2 separate regions of the Homo sapiens genome follow, and region 1 is linked to region 2. Evidence: promoter capture Hi-C in 16 types of primary human blood cells and fetal thymus (Javierre and others, 2016). All regions are on one chromosome and are shown on one strand. The core of a region is centred on a gene start or on the middle of the fragment in contact, and the rest is flanking DNA. Distances in the headings are between cores, read along the strand shown.

The links. The method cuts DNA at HindIII sites, captures the fragments that hold promoters and counts their contacts. A CHiCAGO score of 5 or more calls a contact.
Region 1: a contact is called between a fragment that was not itself captured here and the fragment with the promoter of DNAH6 in region 2, in 1 of 17 cell types (naive B cells). The highest score is 6.6, in naive B cells.

What each region holds. Positions count from the first base shown.
Region 1 is chr2:84,872,246-84,879,506 of GRCh38, reverse strand. All of the region lies in intron 1 of TRABD2A (TraB domain containing 2A), which reads left to right. It also overlaps the pseudogene RPL12P18. Among named protein-coding and RNA genes, the nearest start is that of TRABD2A, 5.2 kb to the left of the region's middle. The HindIII fragment of the contact is 1,025 bases long and covers 1,843-2,867 here.
Region 2 is chr2:84,512,956-84,519,852 of GRCh38, reverse strand. It overlaps DNAH6 (dynein axonemal heavy chain 6), which reads right to left and starts at 3,355. Exons shown (of 77, transcript NM_001370.2): 1 at 3,270-3,355; 2 at 1,802-2,034. The coding sequence starts at 2,026. The HindIII fragment of the contact is 7,595 bases long and covers 1-5,082 here.

The DNA.
Region 1 (7,261 bases), core at 1,106-3,605, 360 kb before region 2:
TTTACGTTACAAAAAATTATCAAAGAAGCCCGGCATGGTAGCTCACTCCTGTAATCCCAGCACTTTGGGAGGCCAAGGCGGTGGATCACTTGAGCCCAGGAGTTGCAGACCAGCCTGGCCAACATGGCGAGACCCTTGTCTCTACAAAAAAATAAAAAAAATTACCAGCGTGGGGACATGTGCCTGCAGTCCCAGCTACTCCAGAGACTGAGGTGGAAGGAAACCTTGAGCCTGGGAGTGGAGGCCAGTGAGGTGTGATTGTGCCACTGCACTCCAGCTTGGGTGAAAGAGCGAGACCCTATATCCAAAAAAAAAAAAAAAAAAGTATTGAAAACCTCAAAGACTTTTACTTTATGTGAATTAATGGAGATAGTAGTAAAACACAACATAGCACACATTCCATTAGCCATCAGAGCAGTGACCTCATCACACACATGTAGCCTCCAGAAAATTCTACAGTACCTTGTGAGAAAATGAGGGTGAAAGGAAAATATCTTAGTTTTATAAAAACAGTTTTGACCTTATAGACTCCCTGAAAGGCTCTTGGGGACACCCACAGGTCCCTGGACCATACTTTGAGAATTGCTGTTCTATTCTGTGGGCAAACTCTGTCTTACCCCCTGCGGAATTGGGAAGGCCAATCAGCGGCACACATGCTGTATGTCTGACCCACATGCTGTAAGGGCATTGTGGTTGGGTTCCTCAGTGGGTTGGGGTCTTGAGATTCTAGAGTGGAAGTCCTGGGATCCAGCCTCCAATCCAGTGCAGCAGCCCCTATAGGATTCTGCAGGACTGTAGCCTTGAGAGCTGGTTTGGTTTTCATGGTTGGTTAATCATTAGAGAGGTCTTCTGAGCCCAAATTGGCCCCTAGACACTGCAGGGTTTACCCTGAGCACCACGCAGGTTGAGTCTCTTTCTTGTCAAACAGAACTCTTAGTGTTCTTTCCTATTCCTGCCTGCTGCCTTTTTTTTTTTTTTGAGACAGAGTCTTGCTCTATCTGTCACCCAGGCTAGAGTGCAGTGATGCTACATTGGCTCACTGCAACCTCTGCCTCCAGGGTTCAAGTGATTCTCCTGCCTCAGCCTCCTGAGCAGCTGGGATTACAGGCGCCCACCACCAAGCCCGGCTAATTTTTGTATTTTTAGTAGAGATGGGGTTCCACTATCTTGAGCAGGCTGGTCTCGAACTCCTGACCTCATGATCCACCCGCCTCAGCCTCCCAAAGTGCTGGGATTATAGGCGTGAGCCACCGTGTCCAGCCTGATGCCTTTTATACTTGCTCTTTCTTCCCCCTGGGAAATTCTCCCCTCATTTATCCACAGGCTTGCTCCCTTACCTCCATCTGGCTTTGGCTCAAGCGTCTCTCAATGAGTTTCTTCCTGATTACTCTCGTAAAGGTGACATCAACTGCTGCCACCACTACCATCTGCCTTCCCTGCTTTATTTTTATTTATAGCACTTAATCACCATCTGATAAAAATTTTTGTTTATTGCTGCCCCTTCCCCTATGTCATCTTCATAAGGGTAGGGATTTTTGTCTGTTTTGTTTGCTTCTGCATCCCCAGTATCCAGAAGAGTGCCTTGCCATAGCAGATGCTCAAAAAATATTTGTTGAATGAAAAGGATAATGTAAAGCCAGCTTCATTGTGGCTGGTCTGCTGAAGAGTAATCTTGGAAAAGTGCAGTTATTGCAGGTCCAGGGATGCTAGGATGGGAGGAGCTGAGGGTGTGCTGGGTGTTACGGAGTTAGCTTGCAATATGCAGTTGTCATTGTGCCTTGTTCTTTTTCACTGGATGGACTACACAGGTGTCTGTTAAAATCTCAGTTTGATTCAGAAGCTTGTAGCTTCTGTGTCTCAGTCACCCATGGCCATGTTTTCTCTCTCTCTTTTTTCTTTTTTGAGACACAGTCCTGCTCTGTCACCCAGGATGGAGGGCAGTGTCGTGATCATAGCTCATTGTAACCTTCAACTCCAGGCCTCAAATGGTCCTCCTGCCTCAGCTTCCCAAAGTCTTGGGATTACAGGCATGAGCCACCATGCCCGGTTGTCTTTTCCTTCTGGGAACAGTTGCAACAAGTTAGAAGGGACATGTTAATCGTGGTTCAGTTTTTTTTTCTTTTAAACCACCCTAATGTTAAAATCTATGGCTTCTTCTAATTGCCATATATTTTAACAGTGAAATGGGGTAGTGAAGGATTTTTTTTTTTTGTAGAGATAAATAGCCCTACCCTGAGGATATCAGTATGAGAGAGGCAGAGGCAGTTGCACCAGTACAGTAAGTGCAAGGGTCCGGGGGCTCGCCAGTGGGCAAAGTAAGGTAAAGAAGAGTCCTGAAGACTCTTCTTTCAGCCTGTGCCCTGCTGAAGACATGTCTGGTAGGGCAGGATCAGTGTTCCACAGGAATGGTTATTGGTGCACACAGTGGGAATCCGGGTGCCCTTTGGTCAGAACAGATCTGTAGGTATTGAAGAAATTGTACAAGATAAGATTCATTTCTTTAAAAAACTCTTTTTGAGCTCCTATGTAGTAGTATATGGCAAGTATTTCAGTATTTGGGGATATGAAGGTGAATAAGATACAGCCCTTGGCATAAAAAAGCAGAAAAGCCCCTGAGCTGTGTTAACTTGAAAAGAGAAAATGGGAAAGGTGGCACCTGAGGATGTAACAAGGTCAGTGTGGTTTATCTGGGCAATCATCTGGGATCGGGAAGATGAGCTGGACAGAGCCTTTCTAGATTTGGAATCAGGTGGTGCTCCTCAGCAACAATACAACTAGCAGGGTATTAACTGAAAAAAGATATGACTCTGAATCAGAGGTAAAGTCTATTGCATGTTAAGGCTGCATAAATATGGCGTTTAAAAGCTTGGACTCAGGAGTCAGCCTACCTGTCCACCACTTAGCATGGGGCATATTTTTGCTCCCACCACACCACTAAAACTGTTCTTGTCTGAGTCCCTAGTGACTTCAGTGTTGCTCAATCCAGAGGTCAGTTCTCAAATTCTTGATTTATTTGGCCTACCATCCACATTTAACCCGCTTGCTTACTTTCTGCTCCTTGAAGTACTTTCTTCAATCGGCCTCCTACTCTTCTGATTTTCCCAGCAACCTTGCTGGCCACTTCTCATTCTCCCTTGCTAGCTGCTCTTCTTTCCCCAGACTTCTTAGGGTGAGAGGGCCCTGAGTCTATTCCTAGAACTTTTCTCCTGTGGACATCCTGTTGGAGACCTTGTCTAGTCCCATGGCTTTAAAGAACATCTACATGGTGATGATGCCCTCATCTTCATCTCTGACCCAGGCCTCTCCCAAGCTCCAGACTTACATATTCACCTACCACCTGGACCTTGGCACAAGTTGTATGCTTGACATGTCAATTGGACAGATCCAAAACCAAATTTCTGACCTTCCCCTCTAATCCTGTTTCACCCCCGTCCTTCTCCATATCTGTTAATGATAACCTCATCCTTTCATCAGGAAGTCCTGTTTTCTTTCCTTTTTTTTTTTTTTTAATTTTGAGATAGGGTCTCACTCTGTTGCCCAGGCAGGAGTGCAGTGGTGCAATCATAGCTCACTGCAGCCTCATCCTCCCAGGCTCAAACCATCTTCCTACCTCAACCTCCTAAGTAGCTGGGACTGGAGGTGCCTGCCACCATGCCTGGCTAATTTTTAAATATTTTGTAGAGACAGGGTCTTGCTATGTTGTCCAGGCTGATCTCAAACTTTTGGGCTCAAGCTTCCCAAAGTGTTGGGATTACAGGCATGAGGCACCGTGCTGGCCAGCAAATCCTGTTTTCTAGACTACATCTGGAATTTGATCACTTCCCATCAATCCTGTCACTCCCACTCAGATTATTTTGGTAATGTCCTAACTGACCTACTTGTGTCTGCCCTCATCCCTCTATTCATCCCAGCCTCCAGGGCGAGCCTTTGAACACACTGTCAGCTGATGTCACTCCTCTCTCAAAAACCTGGGCTAGCTCCCATCTGAATCAGTTGAAAGCCTGAGCCCTTCCTGGGGCCTTTCCAGAGGCCCACCGACCCTGCATGGCTTGACCTCACTCACCTCTCTGACCTCTGCCTCCTGCTTTTCTGTTCAGCTATCCCTCTCTGTCGTGCTGGCCTCCTTGCTGGTCTTCCAGTACATGGAGGCCCTCCCTGCCTCAGGGCCTTTGCATGCTGTTTCTGCCTCCTGGAGGGAATGCTCTTCTCTTAGATATCCCCATAGTGGGCCCCTCGTCTCCTTCACGGCAAGGCTTAGATGTCTTTATAGACATTCAGTGACTTTTCTGGTCCCCCTACTTAAAGTCACCCCTGCAACCCTGTGCCACAGTACTCACTGTCCCTTTTCTGGCTTACATGTTCTTTTTGTGGTTTTTGCTGTCAAATGATCCCTTATTGAAATGTTTTCCTTTGTGCTTCTTAACTAGCTGGGCATTCCACTGCACCATTGTTGATGTCATGAGTGTGGCAGCCATCAAGATTCAGCCCACAGACTGGGAAGTCCCCAGGATCTCTTTAATGGTTCCAGAAAGTTCTCTGGCTAAAGATTGGTGATGCATCTGTTGAGCAACGTTGACGACCTCATCAAAAGTGATATTTCCACTGTGTTTAATGTTTTCCTGTTTCTTTCTATTTCTTGGTGGTTCCTTGAAGGCTTCGAGGGCAGAAGCAGAAGGTACCACCTCAATCTGGGCCTCTCTGTTCTGAATGGTCAGTTTCACTGTAGTCCTCAGACCCCTCCAGTCACTGGTTGGCTTGGCAATGTCATCACCAACCTTTTTTGGAGACAGACGCAGGGGGGCTGATCTTGGTGGCCAGCACAGATGAGGCATTGACTTCACTCCCGGTGCAACTCAGGTATACGACTTTGATCTTGTTAGGGTCCAACTTAGGTGGCATGGTCAAGTCGGCTGGTGTCAGATGAACCCAGATTTGGGACACTGGAAGAAAGTTACATCTTGGCCTCCTCCAGGCTGAAAGACTTAAAGCCAGCTTACATGTTCTCCACAGCAATTGGCACCAACAGGGAACTGTGTGTCACTCACTGTTGTATTCTCTGTGCCTAGAACAGTGTCTGGCACATGGTAGGCTCAGCAGAAATAATTGTGTTGAATGCAGGCAGTGGGACAGTCCAGGCGAAATGCTTGGGTGGAGGCTGGCACACAGTGAACAGCTGCTGTTAGCATCGGTACTGCCATTACATGGCTAGAGGCCAGACGTGTATGTGCGTGTGTGTGTGTTTTTAAATTTAATCAGTTTTCAGTGAAAAGATCATACAGTGACCTTATTTCTAGACCAGTAATAGTTGAAAAGGCAACAATAAATAAATAATAAAATGAAAATGGATGCATACTGAACAGACTGCTTCTGAAGAGAAATGCAGGTATTTTGAGGTAGGATGGGGACCTTAGGCAGATTAAGTGTATTGGATAAAAACAAACCAAAACCAAACCAAAACGAACCCCACCCCTCCATTATCCTGCAGTATGGGTTTGATTTTCCTGGGAATATATTTGTTTAACATGATGGTGTCCTGATAGATGACAATGAATCAGGTGTCCATGGGTTTAATAATAACATTTCAGCTTGTTTGCTGTGTCTCCCAGTTGGAAACTATGTAGAAGTTCTTGGGTAGACTGCCTGGACATTGTGCAATTAGATCTCTTATATAGGTCAGTGGTCCCCAGACATTTCATGAACCAGACCTCTAAATGAACAAATAAACTAAAATTACTCTTCGAAGGCTGCCTCTACCTATTTGTAGGTAATAATTCTTACCTGTTTACAATTAACCAAAGACATAACTGTCAATCTCAACTTTTGATTAGCATCTATTTTAGTTACCCAGTGTCTTCTACCCTTTTGATCTAATTCTAACCAACAGTGAGACATTTGATTGCTTAATTCGCCTTAGCAGGCGTTCTTGGTAGATGTACAGTTTCCATTTCGTTTTTGAAGTATTTAAATAACCTCAGGGGCCCTTATTACTGCATAAGAGGATGCCTAGGGGATGGGGACCCTGTACGTGATTCATCTGTTAATATTACTTCAACAATCAATGGTTTTTAATTTTTTTTTTTCTTTTTTGAGACAGCATCTTGCTCTGTTGCCCAGGCTGGAGTGCAGTGGCGGGATCTTGGCTCACTGAAACCTCTGCCTCCCGGTTCAAGCGATTCTCCTGCCTCAGCCTCCTAAGTAGAGTAGCTGGGACTACAGGCGCTTGCCACCATGTCCGGCTAATTTTTGTCTTTTTAGTAGAGGTGGAGTTTCATCATGTTGGACAGGCTTGAACTCCTGACCTCAAGTGATCCACCCTCCTCGGCCTCCCAAAGTGCTGGGATTATAGGCGTCAGCAACTGCGCTCGGCCTAAATTTTTTTTTTTTTTTTTTTTGAGATGAAGTCTCGCTCTGTCCCCTAGGCTGGAGTGCAGTGGCGCTATCTCTGCTCACTGCAACCTCCACCTCCTAGGTTCAAGCAATTCTCCTGCCTCAGCCTCCCAAATAGCTGGGACTACAGGCGCAGGCCACCACACCTGGCTAATTTTTTGTATTTTAGTAGAGACACGGTTTCACCATGTTGCCCAGGCTGATCGCGAACTCCTGAGCTCAGGCAATCCCCCCGCCTCGGCCTCCCGAAGTGCTGGAATTACAGGCGTGAGCTACTATGCCTGGCCAATAAGGTGCCTTTCAGTAGAAGCACACATAAAACAAGGCTATGTATTGATCAATTGATGAAAATGTTATGAACAAGAACTTAACCCTATGTTTCCCCTAGGAACAACAGTTTAGTATTTGCTAATTTTGTGGCAACTTTATAAAATATAACTACCATGAATAATAAGAATTGCCTGTAGATAGAAACTTCATGATCCAAGGGAAGCATGTTACTTAAAAGGCTGAAGTCAAATACTTTAGTAAAGGGAATATGTTCCAAATATTTCTTTCTCCCTCCCTTCTTCCCTCCCTCCCTCTAGTCCTTCCTTCTCTCTCTCTTTCTTTCTTTTTCTGAGACAAAGTCTCATTCTGTTGCCCAGGCTGAAGCACAGTGGTGCAATCTGCAGACTCAACCTGATGGGCTCAAGCAATCCTCCCACCTCAGCCTCTTGAGTAGCTGGGACTACAGGCATGCACCACCATGCCCGACTAATTTTGGTATTTTTTGTAGAGATGGGGCTTTGCTGTGTTGCCCAGGCTGGTCTCAAACTCCTGAGCTCAAGTGATCTGCCTGCCTCAGCCTCTAAAGTACTGGGATTACAGGTGT
Region 2 (6,897 bases), core at 2,106-4,605:
AAATTTGTATAAAATTGTTTCAGCATGGACAAAGGCAAGAAAAGACATATACTAGATGTCATCAATGTTAGATGGCATAGAAAAGGGGGTCAGAGATTGGGGAATTTGGAGGTAAGGAAAAAATGTAAAAGAAGAAGAGTAGAAAAGAAAGAGAGTAGGAGAAGGAGGGGTAAGGGAAGAGAGAGAGGAGGAAGAAAAGAAGAAGGAAGAGGAGGGGAAAGAAGGGGGGAAGAGGAGAATAGGAAGAAGAAGGGGAAGGGAAAGGGAGAGGAGAAGGCAGTTGAGGGGAGGGAAGTCAATAACAAAAATACATTCTTACCAACTCTATAAAAAGAAGTCAAACTGCAGACACCCACAGGTGTGAAATTAGTCACTAGACTATTAAGCTACTTTCTCTCTGCATGGTGAAACTTCAGGTCATTTTCACTTTTTTCCTTGTTATTTTTTAATATTGTATGAATTATTTTATTCATGTATTATTTATACTGTGCAAGTTATGTTAGTATATAACATACTGCCTCAAACTTAGTAACTTAAAAACTAACATTTATTTTGCTAAAAATTCTGTAATTTAGGCAGAGCTCAGTGGGGACAGCATCAATGCCTCAGCTGGTGCCCAGTGGAGTAGAGGCAAGCTGTCCCCACTGAGCTCTGCCTAAATTGCAGATATCTGTCAGTTGATACAGGCTGTTGGCTGAGACTTGTTCAGATAAAATCTCCTCAGAGAGACCTTTCTAGTCACCCAATCTAAAGCAGTCTCTTCTGAGTCTCTACCATAGTCCATGTGCTCTTTTCTTTTCTTTTTTTAGAGATAGGATCTCACTCTGTCACCCAGGCTGGAGTGCAGTGGTATAAGCACAGCTTACTGCAGCCTCTACCTCCTGGGCTCAATGACCCTCTCCCTTTGCCTCCCAAAGTGCTAAGATTACAGGCATGAGCCCATGCGTTTGGCTTATTTTTTAAATAGTTACTATCACTAGGTGAAATTGTTCAGTCTGCTTATTTAGAATTACTAGAATGTCAACAGGAATCTTGTCTGCTTTGTTCATTTTTGTTCATTTATATTTGTTTATTTTGTTCATTTATATTTGTTCATTTGCTTTGTTCATTCCTCAGAGCATGGCTCAAACCCTGGCACAGAGTACGCACATAACAAACTTTTAATATACATGAGTAGATGGCATTGGTGACAAATTAAACAACTTTAATCATCAACGGTTAGTGATACACTTTTGTCAAGTGAAGGCAAATACGTCAGAGAGAAATAGATGTAGCTAACGTCTAATGGTGGAGAGGACAACTTTTACTTTTTAATTTTTTCGCTTTCACTGCTCTTTACATGCGTTTATAATTATCCAAGGGCATAAATGGTTTCTAAAAATTAAGTATTTTCAACATGCACACAATTTTTTAAATACAAAGGCATGTACTTTGAAAATAATAAAACTATATAACTAAATATAACATTTGCTAAACTTCTCAGTGTTAAATGGTACCCTAATATCTAAAAGTGCCTAATAGCATACATAGTTAAGTATCTGTATTGTACATAATCCTAGAGAGGACTTATCTGCCTGAAAACTTTGTTCACCACTGTATCCTTCAACTTAAACAGTGCCTAGAACTTAATATTTGTTTAATAAATATTTACCGTATTTACAACTACATAAGCAGTTATTATCTTTTAGCTTTTCATTCCTTCTTTGTCAGTTCAGAGTCTGGACATGACTTCTATCCTCCAAAGCAATTTTACAACTTCCTCTGTGGCTACAGAGGCTAAAACAATGGTTTTTGAACTTACCAAAGGCTCTAGTTTTATAGGCTGCTGTCGTTTTCTTGTCTTCTCCTGAGCTTTTGTAATGTGCCTAAACGTTAGGATTTGTGTATCAGATTCATTTTCTGTGGATGTCACATAACTCACTCTTTGTTTGGCTTTTATATTATTCAGTCTTGAAAGTGCAGAATTTTCGGCATACTCTTCAATATTTGTCAGGTCAAATTCACTATCTGTGGCCCGAAAAGTCATCCTTACTCCTGAAAAGAATAGGTGAGGAAAAAGAAAATGAAAAGTAGATCAAAAGGATTGGGGAAGGAGGCTACTGGAGAGGGACTTAAGGACTAGGAAGAGTTGAATTCGCTCACTTCCCTCAAATAAAACCCATCAAAGTTACCCCAGTCTTCCCGAACTGAGGACTTGAACCAAAGGAATAAAAAATTAGAAACTGTGCCTAGGCTTCAAGAACCCCTGTAGCTAGGGTGGAACCCAGGAATTTGCATTTCTTGCAAGTTCTTGGCGGATGCTGCTGCTGCTGCTCATCTGGAGACCACACTGGTCTAGATTTGGAAGGACAAAAGGAAATGTAATTAGTATTGAGATCAATGTTTCTCATCTCCTGCGGAACTTGTTCAAAATGCAGCTAATTCTAGTACACGCAGTCTGAAAAATACAGTATAGGTACTCAAGAAGAAACAAAGGGAAAAAAAAGAATTGAGGGCTAATTTCTTACACAGTGCTTCTGGAGCTTTAACGTGCAGGACAATCACTTGCAGAGCTTGTTAAAATGAAGGTTCTGATTCATACACTTTGAGTAGCAAGGTCCTAAAACACTAGAAATATGAGCCTTTTGTAATGGTCTTGCACTCTGCACCACCACGCACACTTTCACCCCATTAGATGAGTGGAGATACTTCGAAACACCTTCCAAAATAGGGTTAGCACAAGAGGTCTTGAATCAGGTGTCGGCAGACCTAGGTTTTATATAGATCAGTGCTGGCCAATAGAAATATGAGAGCTTTGTATGCAATTTTAATTTTCAAGCAATAGCATTTTTAAAAAAGAAATAGGTGAGATTAATTTTAATAATATGTTTTATTTACCATATACAAAACATAATCATTTGAACACACAGTATAAAAATTATAGTGATATCTTATGTTGTCTTTTGGTACCACGCCTTCAAAATCCAGTGTGCTTTTTACATATGAGCACATTGCAATTCAGACTAGCCACACGAGGTCTAAAGATTACCGTATTTAACAGCGCAGGTCCAGATTTGACCACTCAGCGTGAGATCTTGGACAAGTCTTTTGATATCGCTATTGCTCACTTTCCACCCCTCTAAAATGATGGGCGGATAGCAGACAATCACTGAAATGCCTTTCCATTGATTTTCTCTGCCTCTTTGAGCCTTTATGTTCTCCGAAAGTCAGACTTTGTTTCTGGCCCAGAAATCGGAGCCCAGGCCCGAGGGTCGGTTCCCAGGACTCACCAAGTCAAAATACAGCAACCACCGCCGAGGGTCTCCAGAGAGAGCAATGCCTGGTCGGGAGTAGAAAGTACTCGGTAGCGCGGAATGTTTCCTGTTGCTGCGTAGCAACCAGCTGGCCTCTACGGAAGCACTGCGCCACTGAGTAACACGTCGCCAGGCAACGCCTCAACCAGCCACAGCTTTCGGTCCAGGAGCGCGCCAGGCAATCGAGCCAATTAGTGTCTCCGAAACATTTCCTACTTCGCTGATTGTTGGAGAAGCCGCACAGCCTGGTTCCTCCTCTGCGCTGGGAATTGAGTACTGTGCCAGGAGGTGTAGGCAGAGCAGCCAAAGGAGGTGGTTAATTCTGTTTGCTTCGTTGCTTATCGACCACTCACACCCATCTCAACCTCTTACAGGAATTTCTTTTCTGTTTTCCTTCAAGAGGCGTAAGACTGACTTGACGTTCACTTTAATAGAAATTTATCCGAAAGAGTCGAGAATTTCAGGAGAGGAATGTGGGTTGTGTAGACAAATGAGGTCCCACTCTCCAAGGAAGCAACCACTCTGCATCCCTGCCCTACCCGCCAACCTCCTCCCGAGTGTCTTAAGGCTCAAGAAATGTGGCCTCCTCTTCCCTTAAACTCCACTGTGGCCTTCCAACTAATGTCCTTTTCCACTTGGAAGGTAACCTAGGTGTCAGGCATAGGATGAGCCCGTATTACTTGGTTCCCGTGCCCCTTCTACCAAAGCAGACCCTGGATCTTATTCTGGCGTTTAATCTCACTTAAGTTCCCAAGTGACTGTTGCTAATTTTGTATGGAGCGACCCCATCGAAGGCCAGGGCCTGTTGCTTACTCGGGATGCCTTATCCCAGTTACTGATCAGGGGAAGAAATCCTTTCACCTGTCTTGATGAATCCTTACACCACATGGAGGAGCTCTGGTTTTCAACCTTGTCTCCAAAATGACATAATCATCATTTTCTTTTGCTCTTTTCGGTTGCTCTTTGTTACCTTGATATTTGTTTCTTGCTCTATGTGAAGTTCTTTACATTATTGTACTCACAGCCTGCATCTTCTCAATCTTAACATATTCAGTTATGTATTTGATATGGTAGTATGATTCTCTAAATCACAGATAGAGCTAAAATGGAGATTACAGGTCACATAGTCCAACTCCCCTATTTGATTTGTAAGGGAACTGAAGCCCAGAGAAAGCAAGTGCTTTACTCCAGGTCAGGCAGCTAGTTGTGCCACAGACAAAACTAGAATGCAGATCTCCCAATCCCTAATGAGAAACTGGAAACAGCAAGAGAGTAAAGTCAGTTTAGAAAAAATTTTAAAAATTCTGAAAAACTTCAAATGTAGACAAAATAAAGATTAATTCCCCAGAGATGAAAAATACACACAAAACTAGTCAGCTAGTAAAATGCAATCATTGATATAAACTAATAATGGAAAAAGAAATTCAAAGCCAACTCAGTACATCGAAGCATAAAGTTATAATAACAAGCAATGTTAGACACATCCTCAGAATAGATTTCATTTCAGATGTGCAGTGAAAATTTTAATCTGTTCCCTTCAAAGTTTATGCAATGGAGACAAATCTATTGCTCCTCAATCCTAGACTCCCTTTTTTAGATTAAGGTGGATTGTACACAACTGTTACCATGTGCAGCTGAAAGCATTCCAAAAGCTAAGAAGTGTGTGTGTGTGTGTGTGTGTGTGTGTGTGTGACTGTGGTGAAGTGGGGGTGGGAGGATTGGAAGACACAGACATAGTTTTACAAAGATATTACTATATGAAACACTACTCATCAAATCTCTCCAAGCTTATTTTTTAATGTGGCAAGATGTTATCTTCATTATCAACTGACCACTTACTAAATCAATGTAGCAGCTTTGTGTATAGCCTGCTATTTTTATAGTTCTTATAGATAATTGTTACATTTCATTGGTTGTTTCTTATGTGCCAAGTACTGTGCTTTATATTTCCCATTCATTTTCTTAAGTACTGCTAACAAACATGAAATTCCCATTTCACAGCTAAAGAAGTAGGTTACAAATGGTTACTCACAAGTTCACATCTTTAATAGTAAAAGGAAATGCAGTTAAAATTTTTTTAGCATTAGGTTAAGATTTATATACCAGGCCATTTGTGATGGGTGCTATTCCACTAATCATTGCAATAACCTTATGTTAGAGGTATTATTATACCTATTCCACAGATAGGAAATTGAGGCTTAAAGAGGTTGTGTGACTTTCCCAAGTCACTTCAGAGGTAGTAAGTGGCAGAGCTGAGATACAAATCCAGATCCATCAACTTAAATTTCTATATGAATTTGAGCCCAAGATTATTGAATCATAGAATTCTGCTTCTGGATATATAGTGGAGTATAGCAGGGCTCACAGAAATAAGGGAATCCTCAAGTGTCAAAATAATAATCAGATGAAACCAGAGCAATAAATAACATGGAAGCTGTGGGTGCTGTGGGTACAAATGCCTATACAAAGAACATATAGCTTCAGGGATTAATGCTGAGGAGAAATGGAAGACTAGGCCTTGCTTGAGTCTACACAAAATGGAAGAGCAAACTACAGTTGCCACACACATCTGAGACTGTTGGAAGAATTATCCCCTCAGTAATAGGTTGGACTAGGAAAAAACTGGCAGTGACAAAAACCTACAGGAAAACCAGCATATTTCTACCTGTAGATCCAGGTGGGAAAAAATTGTTAAAAATATAATAGTCTCCCCCAGGAATTTAGGAGTATAGACAAAACTAGTTCTGGGTTTTTCATTTACACTACCTATGTGGTCTGGGGAAAAAAATGCAAGCTACTAGGAAATACCCATGAAGAGAAAGGCATCATCAACTCTGAGTCCTTAGAATTCTCACAAGTTAGTTTCAGCCAAATATAAATTTACAATTAAAAAAAACCCAAGCATACAAGAAAACAAGCCACTCCAAACAAGAGTTAGCAGAATAAACAAGACTTAAAAGGCAAACACATTATATATTAGAACTCTTAAATATAGAATACATAAAATATTTATGAAATGTTCAAGGATAATGACAATATAAAATTTAAAAGTAATTATGGGAATAACATTAGCAAAAATGGTAGAGTAAGGAACTCTAAAAGTCCATCCTTCCACAAAAGTTGTAAGACTTCAGTGACTTTAGAGATTTCAGTAACCACATGTGACAAAGCATACAGTCTTTAAATAATAGTTTACAAAAGTCAGCAACAAACAAATACAACCTACAACAGGCAGAAACAACAAATTCTTAGAAGGCAGGAGAATCTGATTTCCCGAGTTACCATATTATAATATTCAACATATCCAATATCCAATTTTCAACCAAAAGTATGAGACATGCAAACAAAGAAAGTATGGTCCACTTACAGGAAGAAAAACTTAATTAATTATAAATTAAGATGTTAATTGTAATCACAGGGCAACCACTAAGAAAATAACTAAAAAAAAATAGATAAAAAGTGAACCAAAATGGTACACTTAAAAAAATCTACCTCATACAAAAGAAGGCAATAGTGAAAGAATTGAAAAATAACATATAGAAAACAAATACAAAATGTCAAAAGTAAGTCCTTCCTCATCAGTAATTACATTAAATGGAAATTG